2 separate regions of the Homo sapiens genome follow, and region 2 is linked to region 1. Evidence: promoter capture Hi-C in 16 types of primary human blood cells and fetal thymus (Javierre and others, 2016). All regions are on one chromosome and are shown on one strand. The core of a region is centred on a gene start or on the middle of the fragment in contact, and the rest is flanking DNA. Distances in the headings are between cores, read along the strand shown.

The links. The method cuts DNA at HindIII sites, captures the fragments that hold promoters and counts their contacts. A CHiCAGO score of 5 or more calls a contact.
Region 2: a fragment that was not itself captured here is called in contact with the fragment with the promoter of CADPS2 in region 1 in 1 of 17 cell types (endothelial precursors); the score reaches 6.5 in endothelial precursors.

What each region holds. Positions count from the first base shown.
Region 1 is chr7:122,882,731-122,889,923 of GRCh38, forward strand. It overlaps CADPS2 (calcium dependent secretion activator 2), which reads right to left and starts at 3,730. Exons shown (of 30, transcript NM_017954.11): 1 at 3,269-3,730. The coding sequence starts at 3,607. RefSeq lists an enhancer at 3,018-3,067 and silencers at 3,428-3,557, 3,598-3,647, 3,658-3,737, 3,808-3,967, 3,978-4,137. The HindIII fragment of the contact is 15,066 bases long and covers 390-7,193 here.
Region 2 is chr7:123,142,151-123,149,343 of GRCh38, forward strand. SLC13A1 (solute carrier family 13 member 1) reads right to left here. Exons shown (of 15, transcript NM_022444.4): 7 at 5,009-5,160. Among named protein-coding and RNA genes, the nearest start is that of SLC13A1, 54 kb to the right of the region's middle. The HindIII fragment of the contact is 5,865 bases long and covers 1-5,747 here.

The DNA.
Region 1 (7,193 bases), core at 2,480-4,979:
ACTGACTCTACCTTTAACTGAAGATCTAGAACCATCCAAAGTTAATCATCATTGTTAGCACTGGGGTGGTGCAAAGGTAATCAGGGTAAATCAGCATTAGAGGCTCAAGCACTATCACTACTGACATCACTTTCAATCACTGTTTATTAGTTCATACTCATATCATGTGTGAACCCCTGGATATGTTCATTTAGGAGGTGTAGCACCTGGAAAGGCACTCTGTCACAGTGTGTAGCCCATATGCACCCCCAGAATTTTCTGTAAAACCATCAGTGGTCAATCAGAGGGCTTGAATGTCATAAACTGACCACTATTATTCCTCAAAATTGAAATAGTCTAGACAAAAGCAAAGAAATTCATGTGTTCGTTAACTGTGTTTAATGCTACTAAGCTTTCTCAAATAGCTCATAGACACAACCTCTTACTAACTTTGTGGACCATTTTAGCCAAGTGAAAAAAATAAATAAATAACACTGCTGCTCAGTTCTGGTTCATAGAAACTCACCAGCTCTAATAGTGAACGGGCTTTGACTAAAGAGAAACCTGACTCCTGGCCTCCTGGGTAAAGATCTTATCTTTGTGATTAATTTTCTTCATAAAATGAGGACCCTTTCAGATCTCAATTTCTGGGTCTCTAAATTCTTGAAGTTGAGAGAAGTGAGTAAGCAGCAATATTCATTTCAATGACAACAATTTCAGCTATTAAATCTTTTTACTGGATGCCTGACTACTTGAAGATACAGAATAAAATAAACAACGGATTAGTGATTTTGCAATTACCTTGTTACTTCTTTTAGATAATCTAACTGTATAATGCAAGACTTCAAGTAAGTTTTGGCATTACTTATTAGCTTGTGCATCAAATTCACATAAACATAGTTAAATTCCCATTTCATTTTGCCCTAAGAGGAAACCAGACTGCCAAAAGTTGCTCCAGCTCCCTTTAGTAAGCAGCACATTTTTTAAAAGGTGGGGGAGGGTTGAGTAAAGTAAATACTTAGGCTATTTGGCATCCATCTTAATAAAAAATAAAAGTAATTCACAAAAGTTAACCTGTGCTCAATGCTCTAAGCATTTAGAATGTGGAAATTCCTAAGGATTCTATTTTTTTTCATAGAATATATGTTGTATTTTGCTTTTTTTGTAGTTTGAAATTATCTTTGGTAATGCCTGGATAAGGTTATAACAATAGTCTCCCCAGTAGTATTGTGAATGCACCTGCTTGCCAATTCAAATAATTTTGAACAAATATTTAAACAGAAGGAGTCAGAGAAAAATGCACTATTTGAACAGCTAAGGGAGGGTCCACTTCATTAACAAAATGCAACAAGTATTCACAGTATAAATCAACTCATAGTAAATTTGCAAAAGCATCTTCAAGGATAATATTCCAAGGAGAAAATAGTCTCTTAATTTTACCAAACATTATTTTTACACTTTAATCATTAAAAATAGGCTTAAATGCAATATGAATGGTAAAACTAGAGACTGGATGATATGAACTCATACCACAACATATACAAAAAATAGTTTTAACAATGACTATTGAAGCTGACAGTCGCTTGACTAGAATTGAGAAGAGGCCACGGGTGACTGCCTCAGAACAGACTCAATTAGAGCAGCTGATTAGGAAGTATGGGATTCATACAGGAGTGGAGCAGCAGGCTCATAAAAACACCGCGGGGCATTCAAAACTTACCTGAGTAATGGTGGTTTTAACTGTGCCAATTTGTTTGGGATTGGGAAATGCTATTATGACCTATTTCTCTTCTCCAACATGAGGAGTCTCCCTACCATTCTGTGACTGAATACCTAGGGTTAGGTTACCTGAAGGATCTGTTATTAATCTCCAGCTGTAAGGAAATATTCCATAAGGATTCCCAGAGAATAAATGATTCCAAAATAGTTGCTCAGTTTGTGTGTGTTTTAAAAAGTTGGGTAAGACCACTTAAAATTTTTTTCTAAGAGGATAGATCTTAAGCATACAATAGTGTTAACTATAGGTGTGTACTTATCCCCATGATACTTATACACCTATGAAACCACCAATAGTTAGGGTGGAGTGGTATGCACAGCTTTTTACATGTCAATTATACCTCAAAAAATAAAGGTTATCTAAATGGGGGTAGGAGAATGTAGGGAGACTGAATTTACTCTGAACTACAGTTATAGTTGAAGTCAACTCAAAACCTCTCCAAATTTCTAAAAATGCCTCACACACTGAAGTTAATATTTCAGAAAACTAATAAATGTCTGTGCATGTAGGTATGCCTTGAGCAGACTACAATCTCTCTGGATCTCTAGGTCTTGTCACAAACTGAGGGAACTGTTACCGATTTCTACAGAACCTTCCAGGTTCAGCATTCTATTAAAAAGATTTCCTAGAGTTTGTATTGTAAACATTTAACCACTTAGGACAATTTGAGTCATTACTCGTGTCTGGTACAGAACATCAGGCCCCTGGGGTCTTGTTTTGAAACTCAAGTTGGCCAGCCTTTCACCTGAAACAAACTTCTTACCTTTTGGGGGAGAATAAGCATTTTGTTCCCCAAAAAAGCATTTGGAAAGCATTTGTTATGAAGTGATCATGCACCAATCCTTTATCTTTCATCAGTAATAGTATATTTCATTAATCAGGCCTGCCCAGACCAGAAATTACTTACCCACAAACACTTTACAAAGCTGCATGCCTTCTCGGTGTTTGGATTTGATGTCCTGGTTGTATGACAATATAGGAAACGTATTAATTTAACTTTTTTATTCACTGAGGAAAATTTCTACCCCTCTTAAGTGAAGACTTCACTCTAGCTAAGAGAAGTACTCGGGCTCCACCTGTTTCGCCTAGCTACAACACTCATTCAGACCCTCGGCAAACCCAGCTCTAGCAATATCACGCCAGGCTAGGTGGACAGGAATGCACCAGTGCTGTTGGAAATTAAAGTTGATGGGAGTTGCATTCTAATCCGGCCAGAGCTGCGCCTGCCGGGTGCAACCGCGGCGCGGCCGGCGCTGTCGGTCTCTGTCTCACGGATGGTGAGCTGACAGCTCCTGCCAGCCCAGGCGGGGAGGAGGAGAAGAGGTGTCCGCTGCAGCCGCATACCCGGCGGGTGAAAGCACCGTCTTGTCCCCAAAGATTCCTCTGCCCTCAGAGACTAACAAAAATACGGTGTCCTGCGTTTCGCAGAAGGACGGGAGGCGTCCCAGAGCTCTCCCGGGAGAAAAACCCAGGGAGAAGTGGTGGTAGGAGGCGCCCGGTCCCGCAACTCACCTTCTGCTGCCTCCGGGCCATGTCGGTGGGCTGCTTGGCGTTGAAGGGGTACGCGATGCACCTCACGACGAAGACGTAGAGCTGCAGGCGGATCCTCCGCTCCTGCTCATCGTCCAGCTGCCGCTGGGGCTCGTCTCGCCCCTCGCTGAGCACAGAGGGGCTCGGGCTCACAGATCTGGCCGCGCCGCCGCCGCCCGCGCGCCCCGGCGCGTCCCGCCGCCCTTCCCGAGTCGGGGCTGGAGGAGCTCGCTGCGAGCTGCCGGCTGCCACCAGCACATCGCGGCTTTCCTCTTCCAGCCCCTCGTCCGACTCCTCTTCGCTGGAAGACGGGTCCAGCATGGTGCTCGGGGATCCCCGCCGCTCGGCCCGCGGTCCCCAAGCGCCTCACCCCCGGCGGCTGCGCCCGCGGGTCTGAGGGAGCCGCGGGGCTGGCTGCAGCGGCCGCAGAACGAAAGGAAAACTGGCCAGGGCTTTCCGGACACGTCGAGTTAGATTCAGGAGTGTTTCCTACCACCAGGGCGAAAGGGGCGGGCAGGAGCCGGGAGGAGGATTGGGAGGGGGGAGAGGGGGAGCCGCCGGGACTGAATAGGCGGAGTTAGCGTTGGGGGTGAGCTTGGGCGCCTCAGGAATTGCTCCGCCAGCCCCGGGCGCGCCGACCCAGCGGTTCCCCAGAGCCCGCCGGCAGAGGCGGAGCCGCCCGAGCGCCCGGACGCAGGTGGGGAACCTGTGGCGCCTACAACAAGCAACACGTGGAATTGAATGTTGAAGAGCCGCGCGGGGCCGCGGAGTGCGCGTGCGCGCGCCGCCGCTGCTGCCCGGGCCCGCCTGGAGCCCTAGCACACAGTTTGCAAAGGCGGGGAGCGGCCGAGCGCGATGGCCCGTGTAAGCGTCCACCGGGGCTGCTCCGACTACCCTCACCCTACCACCTGTGATCTTTTCTCCAGCAGGTGGAGGTGGAATGGGGAGCGGGGAGGGACTGTTCCCTAGCAAGAGGTTAGGGGGAGCGGCCGAGACATCTCCCCAACCCGAATCGGCTGCCTAGGATTGAACCCCAGCGCGGAAAAGCGGGACTGGAGCCCTTCACCACGAAGTATCTTTGCGACAAGACTTTGAAAAGTCTCACTCTGCTCTGCTGCCGTTTTGATACTCATGCTGAAGCCCAAATTATAAAAGTCGGAGTAATGAAAAAAAAAAGAAAACCAACGAGGCTTACTTTTTAAACTGTTCTAGTCCTGCAGACTCAAGGCAAGAGAGATTTTATATGTGCAAAATGATACTGATTCAGCTCAAACATATCTCGATTATTTTCTGGGTTGGGATGCAGTTGACTCAAAACAGGTTGTGTAGTGTGGACATTTATTCAACAAAGATTTGAGCGCCCTCCCGGTGTCCAGCACTGTTAGCCTTTTGCGGAGCCCGCGGTGACTAAGGCACATGACACTCAGTCGCTGGTGGTTCTGGCCTCAAGTCGGCGTCTTGTAGCTGCGCTGAAGCCTGCCTTATCTGCGCAGATTTCTCAGTCCTAGTGCTGGAACCACCTAGGAGTTTCTTATAGTAATTCTGTATCTTATGTCCTAAGTCCTGACAGAGGGGGAAATAGGCAAAACAATGCATTCAACACCAGGTGGAGTGTGCAGCGACCAGGTGGGCAGGGAGGTGATGAAGTTCAGTGGAAATAACACAGGGCAAATTAACTACCAGCTCTGAGCTCCTCTACCACCATGGTCAAACAGCAGTTTTAGCTTTTTCAGGCCACTTTCATATAGTTAGGTACACAAGAGAGACTTCTGCACTTACTGACATTCTCTCTAGATGGGTAAAAGACAAGGAGGCATTTACTCCTGAGGAGTCTTACCTATTTTTCTGCCTAATCCATAACAGGCCCCCTAGTAATAAAAGGTCTTCAGTAAGAGCATGGCTGTGGGATGATCACAAACTGCCAAGAAATAGAAAATCTCAAACACCTATGTATTTAAAGGCAATGTTTTATTTTTGGCAAGGCAAACAAATAGCAATCTTGTCATAATAGCTGATGCTTATCTAGCACTTTGCAAAGATCTGTGAAATTGTTTAATACCCTCATCAAAGTAATAGCTTTCTGAGGCAGGTAGTATTATTATTGATTGCCCTTTGAACCAGATACTGCACTAAGCTCTTTACATACATTATCTCATTTATTTTAGGTTCCATTGTTCAAATAAGGAACCTGAGAGTTGAAGAATCCTTTCCTTAGGGTACAGAACTAGCACCTAATGGAATAAGGACTCAAAACAGTTTTCTAGTTCCAAATAGTGTCATTTTCTACTGCAATTTGCCTTGATAATAAGACAGTATAATAAATGTATGAGGTTTACTAAACTAATAAAAATTTCTAGGGACATAAATGTATGATTTAAATATAGCAACTTTACTGCCCTTTTCTTGCCAACAATAGGTATATTTTTCAGTTCCTTTTATTAATCAATATTACTTGATGTGATCACTTATTCTTTTCCCATTAAAGGTGGTTATTAAGTCAAAGATCTCCAAGCCTTGAGGATCCCACAGGAAAACATCTAATAATTTTTAGAGCAGAATATACAGTGTTTTCTCCATGAAGATGAAGATGACTTAAGAGGCATAAATTAAAGAAATATCTAAAAGACAACAAAGAGAATGTTTAAGCATCATTAAACATACATTGATTAAGAAACTAACATATGCTAAAGCTATACTGGATATATTTAGGAAAACAAGATATAGGCCGTAAGAAGTTTATCAGTTAAGGAATGACAAATGAAAAAAACATTTATTTAAAATAATCAATATTTGGATTGCAATCTGATGAGTGTTCCAATAACCTGGAAGATAATGGCAATACAGAGAAGAAACACTTCATTCAGAAGATAGTAAGTGATATGGTTTGACTCTATATCCCCACCCAAATCTCATCTCTAATTGTAATCCCCACATGTGGAGGGAGGGACTTGGTGGGAGGTGATTAAATCATGGGGGGCAGTTCCCCCCTGCTGTTCTATGATAGTGAGGGCATTCTCACGAGACGTTTATGGTTTAAAAGTGGCAGTTTCCCCATCTCTCTCTCTCTCTCTCTCTTGCTGCCTTCTGAAGAAGGTGTCTGGTTCTCCTTTGCTTTCTGCCATGACTGTAAGTTTCCTGAGGCCTCCCCAGCCATGCGGAACTCTGAGTCAAGTAAACCTCTGTTGTTTATAAATTACCCTGTCTTAGGTACTGTCTTTAATAGCAGTGTGGAAACAGACTAATACAGTAAGAGAAGTCTTCCAGGATGCTTGACATATATCTTGAAGAATAATTTAGAGCTGTCAAGATGAGGACACTGTAGATAGGAAGTAATGCAAAGATGTGAAATTGTTTGCCACTTTGGAGAATTACAAGTAAAGTGGCATGCCTGAAGTGAAGAATGTATGTAATATGAAGATGTGGAAAATGAGACTAGAGAATAAGCAGAGGCAAATTCAGGATTGGGTCTGTGTGCCATGCTTTGGAATTTAAACATATCCTGAAGAAAATGGGGAAATACAGAAGGGTTTTAAGTAAGGTAAGACATACTGTGATCCATAACTCTTAAGAGTCCATCTGGAGCAATATAAGGGCAATGAAACCAGAGACAAGCTATAAAGAGGAGATTACTAGGGACGTCTGAGAGAGAAACAATGGGCCTTGAACTTAAGAGAGAGGACAAGAGGAGGAGGAAAGCTGATGAGATGGACAAAGGAATTAATAGAATATGTATGAGGTGCTGACAAAGAGGGTCAAGCATAGAAGATGCTTGTCAGAATAGTGTAACTTGATTAATAATAGATATAATATGATCTTCTAGAAGACAGGTAGGTTTGGAGAAACATCAGGTCTTTGAGGAGCTTAAAGTACACATATGGATGATAAGGTCTAGAAATTATGTGTTCAG
Region 2 (7,193 bases), core at 1,565-4,064, 260 kb after region 1:
ACAAGACATAGTCTTTCCCACTCTCCCACCCCTTTCCAAAGGCAGTGAAAGCTCACCCCGTGTCCACTGCCACCACAGATCCATGGGGAGCATTGCCAAACTACCACTGATGTTCCCTTAAGGTCCGAGGGCTCTTCAGTCAGCTTGTGTGAATACTGCCTGGCCTGGGACTCACCTTTCAGGGCAGAGGACTCCCCCTCCTTCCCAGGACAGGTCCATAAATGCCATCCAAGAGCCAAGTCAAGGAATCAGAGACCTTAAGAACCTGCATGGTGCTCTACACCGCTGTGGCCAAGCTGGCACCTAAAGTGCAAGCCAAAGTCCTCTTTAGTTTTCCCTCTGCTTTTGTTAAGCAGGAGTCTCAACCCACAGCCACCACAGCTAAGAATGCACTGATTCTCACCTGAAGCCAGCAACTCTTAGAGTCTCTACAGTCTCACCCAAAGCTCTTGATGTAACTCCTGAGTCTTGCTTTCAGGGGCAAGAACTTTTTTTTTTTTTTTTTGATGGAGGCTGGAGTGCAGTAGCGCGATCTTGGCTCACCACAACCTCTGCCTCCCAAATTCAAGCGATTCTCCTGCCTCAGCCTCCTGAGTAGCTGGGACTACAGATATGTGCCACCATGCCCGGCTAATTTTTGTATTTTTAAGTAAAGATGGGGTTTCACTATGTTGGCCAGGCTGGTTTTGAGCTCCTGACCTCTTGATCTGCCCTCCTCGGCCTCCCAAAGTGCTGGGATTACAGTCGTGAGCCACCGCACCCGGCTGACGAAGAGCTCTTTAGTTAGCAGGTGATGCAACCTCCCAGGCTTGGTCTTTTTCTTCAGAACAACAGATTTCATTCTGGCCCAGGGTGTGTCTAGAAATGTCGTCCTAAAGCTAGAGCCTGGAAAGGGGGCCAGTGCCCTAACTTGCTGTGGCTGAGCTGGTATCCAAGATGCAAGACAAAGTCCTCTCCACTCTTCCCTCTCCTCTCGTCTCCTCTCCTCGAGCAGTAGGAAGGAGTCTTTTTTTGGAGCTGCAATCTGTGCAACCTGGAGTTAGTGAAGAGGGATATGAGGACTCCCTTAGCTGCCCTGTCTTTTGTCCCAGTAGACTACATTCCCCCCACACAAGTCCTCTGGCTCAAGGCACAGTTCAGCACTAGAAGATGTCTAGGAGTTGTAGTTTTTGTGCCCTAGACTTCCTTTCAGAGTTATTTTTGGCCCCAGAACACTTTAGCCCGCAGTGGTGAGGGTTGTGGGAAGTCAAGTTCCAACTGCTGGGATGGGCACTTCTTCTCTGGCTACAGCTGGTTTAAATGCTCCCTTGGTGTGTGGGCTGAGTTTATTCCTGTTTTTCTTTCTGCTATGACAGGACAGCATTGATTTCAATGACTTACAATTGCTGGGCTCCTCCTCTCCCCACAGCACAAGAATGCTCTCTGCAACATGCTGCCACTGCCAGGGAATGAGGGAGGGGCAGCATCTGTGATTTTACACTGTTTTCTCTACCTCTTCAGTGCCTCTTTCAATGATATGAAATTAAAAGGAGCTACTGTGAGTGCTCACCTGATTTTTGGTCCTTATGAAGGTGCTTTTCTGTATGTAGATAGATGTTAAATTGGTGTCCTTGCACGGGGTACTATCCATGGAGCCCTGTATTCCACCATCTTGCTCTGCCCCTTTCTTCCTGAACTGTTGACCCACAAAAATAATGAGATAATAAATGTGTGCTGTGTTAAGCCACTAAGTTGATTGCCATTTGTAAGGTAGCAGTAGAAGAGGAATACACAGGGAAACCTATTACAAGATAAAGTCCCTCGGAAGTAGGGTAGAGTGGAGTAGATTTTAGTTTACATGTGAAGATAAACAGAAGGCAAGATATTTTAGATATATTTGGAATAAAACCTAGGAAATGGAGAAAAGATGTCATATGTTGAAATGGTGAAGTCTGAGGGGAGGTTGGATTGGCAGGAGGGCAGGGGAGAGGTGGCAGATCAAGCATGCTGTTTTGGGATGTGATGATTTGAGATGTCCCTCAGTTTTTGAAGTGGTCATGTTGGAATGCAGCTGGATAAGTAAGTCTGAAATTCAGAGGAAAGGGCAGGGATAGAGATAAAAAATTGGTAGTTATCAGCACATAGGTGGTATTACAAACATAGAAATGGGTCTGATCATTTAAGCAGTAATGGAGATTTAGAAGAGAAACTGAAGTGCTTCTCTTGGGGCACTGTAAGTTTTAGAGGTTAGGTAGAAATGAGCAGATGAGCTAAGCACTTTTAATTTTATCAAAAATCCTGTGAAAAAAGCATTAAATTTTTATTTTACACAGGAATAAACTGAGTCTTAGGGGGCTAAGTGGATTTCTCAAAGTCAGATTGTGTAGTCAAACTGGATTTTTAACCCAGGAGGAGTTTAAAACACAACCTCTGTTCATTAAACCATTACATCCTCAATTTTAGCTCCCAGGTAAAAAGAGAAAATGCCACATATATTACAAAACATCCGCAGGCTGGAGTACAAACTTTATGTTTTCTTGGCACTTTAAAACAATTGTAGAAATGATGCCCCATAACACGGAGATGTGCTTTGACCTAAAGCACATTTACACGTCAAGGTTGACTCTTAGGAAGAGTCATTGTCACTGCAAGTAACTTACATGTTATATGCAACTTATGCCCCACTGCAAAACAAATAACTTTAATACCCATGAAATACTCAGAACATAGCTTCAAAAGAATGAATGTAGTCTTGGAAATTTATAACCTTGGAACAGATTTTGGGCATTAAGTGTCATAGTATGCTACTATAGATACTATAATTGCACACCAATTATAGACCTTTTGACTGATGACAGTTTTGATTATCTCTGAGATAAAGCTACTTTTCCATTTTGTGTGTGTGTACTTCCAGAGGATTTTCCTCAAAATATTAACTATTTATCATTCATGATCCAGGCTGAGATTTTTAACAGCCATGGCAAAAGTAGAGCAGTGGCAATAACAACAGCTAACATTATTGACAAGTTACTATGTGCCAGACCCTCTGCTAGAGCCACATGTGCATTATGGCATTTAATTAATTCAATAATGTTGTAAGTTCTAGTATCATCCCCATTTTACAGAAAAGGAAACTGATAGTCACAGAAGTTAAGCTAATATATGGTGAGCTTGAAATCTGAATTGAGGTCTAAGTCCAAACTCTGCCGTGTCAAAATTTCTTCCATAGTATTTACCATATTGCAATCTTACAGAGTAATATGAATTACTTGACTGTATCAACTAATTTCATGTGAATGATGGAAACCAGCAGTTCTCTAATATCAACAAAGATGAAGCATAAGAATTCGGTCTGGATATTAGAAAAAGAAATTCACAGACAGGAACTAAGATGTGGAATCCCTTCTCTTGGAGAATTCATGAGAAAGGATATAAGTCATTTTCAAAAAGATGTCAGGTGCATTTCTTGTCTTAAATTAGGGGATACATTGGATAAATCCTCACTGGTACTGTGAGTTTCAGAAGCCTCTCATTTATAAACCAAAAACCTTTTAAAGTTTTCTAAGTCAGTAATTGGAGTGTAGATAATGGATGTGTATTCATAGAAACAATACTCTTGGAGGTCTGTGTAATATTGATCCTAAACTCCTATACCAGTGTTCGTTGAACACAAACACCCATTCTTTCTAGAATGGAGATTGACATTCTTTGAGTCTTGTATTTCTTAGAGAATCCGTGCATGCACAACATTTTGCAAATAATTTCAGAAAATTCATAGAGTCTATGAATCTACTTCACAGAGAGTAGTTTTCCTGCCTCTAAACTCTAATTTTTCTGTGAACCCAAATCCTGTTCCTAGGCTTTCTCAATTGTGTCTGTCTTCTTGAAATTCTGATTATTATCTGTTCTTTTAGTAGAACCAGTCTGAGTGCACATATGACACCATGGACTTTCATACTATTGTTTCAATGATACTTACATAGCGCAAAATATTTTTACATAGTTTACTTCATTGAATTCTCACAATAACCCTATCAACTGTGACTATTTTACATATGAAAAAATTAAGTCTTGGGAGAATCATGGACCTTTTTGTTGTTAAATTCATAATGTGGCCGGGTGCAGGGGCTCATGCCTATAATCCTAGCACTTTGGGAGGCCAAGGCAGGTGGATCACTTGAGATCAGGAGTTTGAGACCAGCCTGGCCAACATGGCAAAACCCCGTGTCTACTAAAAGTACAAAAATTAGCTGGGTATTACGGTGCATGCCTGTAATCCCAGCTACTCGGGAGGCTGAGGCACGACAATCACTTGGCAAAAGTTGCAGTGAGCTGAGATCGCACCACTGTCCTCCAGCCTGGGCAGCAGAGTGAGACCCTGTCTCAGAAAAATAAATAAGTAAGTAAAATAATTCACAATGTAAGTACCTGCAAATTGAGGATTTTTTAACCCAAGTGTTCTACCTGTTGAATCCACAGATTCCCATTTCTGCAATGGAATTGTCATCACAGTTCCAAACATATTAACAGTCATATATCTGTTTGTAGAATACTTTATTACTGACACTTATTACAATTGTTCAATCTTTCAAATCTTTTTTGAATTCCAAAGCCAAGCCTTCCAAAATTAATACCTCTGTTCACCATTCATTACTTAAGTTCACATGTTGGTCCCCAAACCCTACATAAATTGTCCCAAGAAAATAATTCCTTTTCACTTTAGTTAACTACCATTTGTGGTATTATTTTCAATGAAAAATGTTTTTCCTGTTTGTTAAGGGTGGTCAGCCAAGAGTTATCCCCTCTGAGCTGACCTGGGAAATCTGTTGGCACAAGTTAATTCAGTATTCCCTGAATATTTAATTCTCAGTATAAAGGAAGGTCTGTAGATCTATAGATGTCCTGAAGGGAAACAAGGGAGAGTTAACATAACATCTCTGTACTTGAATTCTCTGAATCAGGTAAGAATAATTTTTATAATTTTTGTGCTGCCCTTATGTTAAATCACCAATCCAATAAGGTTACTTACGTATTGAAATACTCTGCAAAGATCAAGTTGGTGGAGGTACCAGTGATTGTTGTCAGTCCACCAATGGTAGAAGAGTAGGCAATGCACAAACACGTAAGTTTACGTGTCACGTGGCCCTTCTTTGTTCGATATTTGGTTCTCATGCCTGAGTTCTGTTCAACAACAACAAAAAACTACCATGAGAACTGCTCTATATTTGTTATGGACTGAATATTTGTGTCCCACCACCCGCACCAATTCATATGTTGAAACCCTAACTCCTGATGTGATTGTATTTGGCAATGGGGCATTTGGAAGATACTGTACCTTCCTTTGAGGATGTGGCCCTGGTCTGATAGGATTATGTCATTATAAGAGGACACATGAGAGAGCTTGATTCCTCTCTCTCTCTCTCTCTCTCTCTCTGCTATGGAAAAAGCCACAAGAAGGCATCTGTCTGCAATGCCAGGAGAGAGCCCTCACCAGACACTGACCCTGCCAGACCCTGATCCAATCTTCAGAACTGCAAGAAATAAATTTTTATTGTTTAAGCCACTTAGTCTGTGGTGTTTTGTTATGGTGATATGAGCTGACTAATATAGCATTTATCTTTCCATCAATAGAGATGTAGCAATAAAAGTATTTAAGCTGAAGCCACTGAAATATTTTAAAAACCCAATTTCATTCATTTCTTCATCCTTCTTTCTTGTCTCTTACCCAACTCTTCCCCCATGTCTTTCCTTCTCACCACTACTCCCAAAGCTTTTCATTATTTTTCTGTTGATACTGGTGGTACATACTCAATAAGTCCCTAAACTTCTTTAAGAAGGGTTTCCCCATCTACACACCTTAATGGATGGTTCCCAGGGGATATTACTCCTGAAGTGGAATGTTTTCAACACCATATACCTCAGCATTGAGAGATAAGTCAGTGTCCTCTTTGCTCCCACTGTCTATTCCAGAACATTAATCCTCCACTCACACAAAAAATAAATCCATTTTTTTTAAGGATCATGTAACTTGGATATCTCTTTCTCTCCCCATTCCTTTGACCATTATATTTTGATCTCCTGGTCACCCACTGTCATTTAAGATAACATTTGCACTCAGCACTTAATCATCTTCCTTAGTCCAAATCTTGTCAGTGACTGAATGACTACACTATGTTCATGAATAGCCCTTCAAATATCCTGGCCTCACAGATTTTTTATCTCATTTCCAACGATTTTCAGTTCTCCACCTCAGTCACCCCACCCCCATAGTTATACCTTGGACAATGGCACATCCTGAAATGGTTTCACTTGGGGAATCACTAGTCCAAATGTAAGTGTTTTATTTAAGAGATGACTTTCTAGGGTGTAAGCCAAAAGCAACTTCATTCTTTTTCTCACCCATGACCCTGTAAACACCCTTTGTTGGTTTGATTCTTCCTCTTCCTGTGGCGAAATTCAAAGAAGAACCAATAACTTTTCCGGTCATTTCATTTAATGAATGGTTTTTCAGTTATGTTTAGTCAGGAGAATAGCTTCATTTCAGTAGTTAAACAGTGCCCTATTTAATAAGAAAAATCCCAAATTTTAAACTTAAGCATTCTCTTATCCCCTAGATCAGGCCTGCTTGAAAACCCATAGCTGGAAGGAGGTTTGTGAGTTTGACTTTCTCTTTCTCTCCTAGTTCCAATTCTTCTCACCACTTGCTACACTCAGTTTTTAAACCTTCAACATTTGGAATGTCAAGAGAAGAACAGGATCAGGAGAGGAGTGGTAAGGATTAGGAGAAGTCTTATTTGACTGTGTATTAATTTTAAAATGGTATTAGTACTTTCCAGGCATGGTGAATTTTTGAAATGACTCCATCTGGTGGGCAATTTTATGAGATTTTATGAGACTCCTATTATCCAAATAAGAACATCAGATTGTTGTTCTTTCTATGTAGGTAACACACATCTTCTGCCTGGTGACGTATGACACACTCATGGTGTCTGCATGTGATAGTCTACCTGGTCTCTTTATGTTGAAATCCACTTATGCTGTCAAAAATCCCTTCTGGAGGAAGTTGCCTTTCAAATGATCCCACATGACACTCCTCCCACATGTTTCCTACATATGGTCCAAGGGAAACAGTCACCTCTGTCCTGTTGTCAGTGACAGTGCAGCTGAAACTTGATTAGGTAAAGAAATTCAGCCACGAGTTTTTACTTTATAAT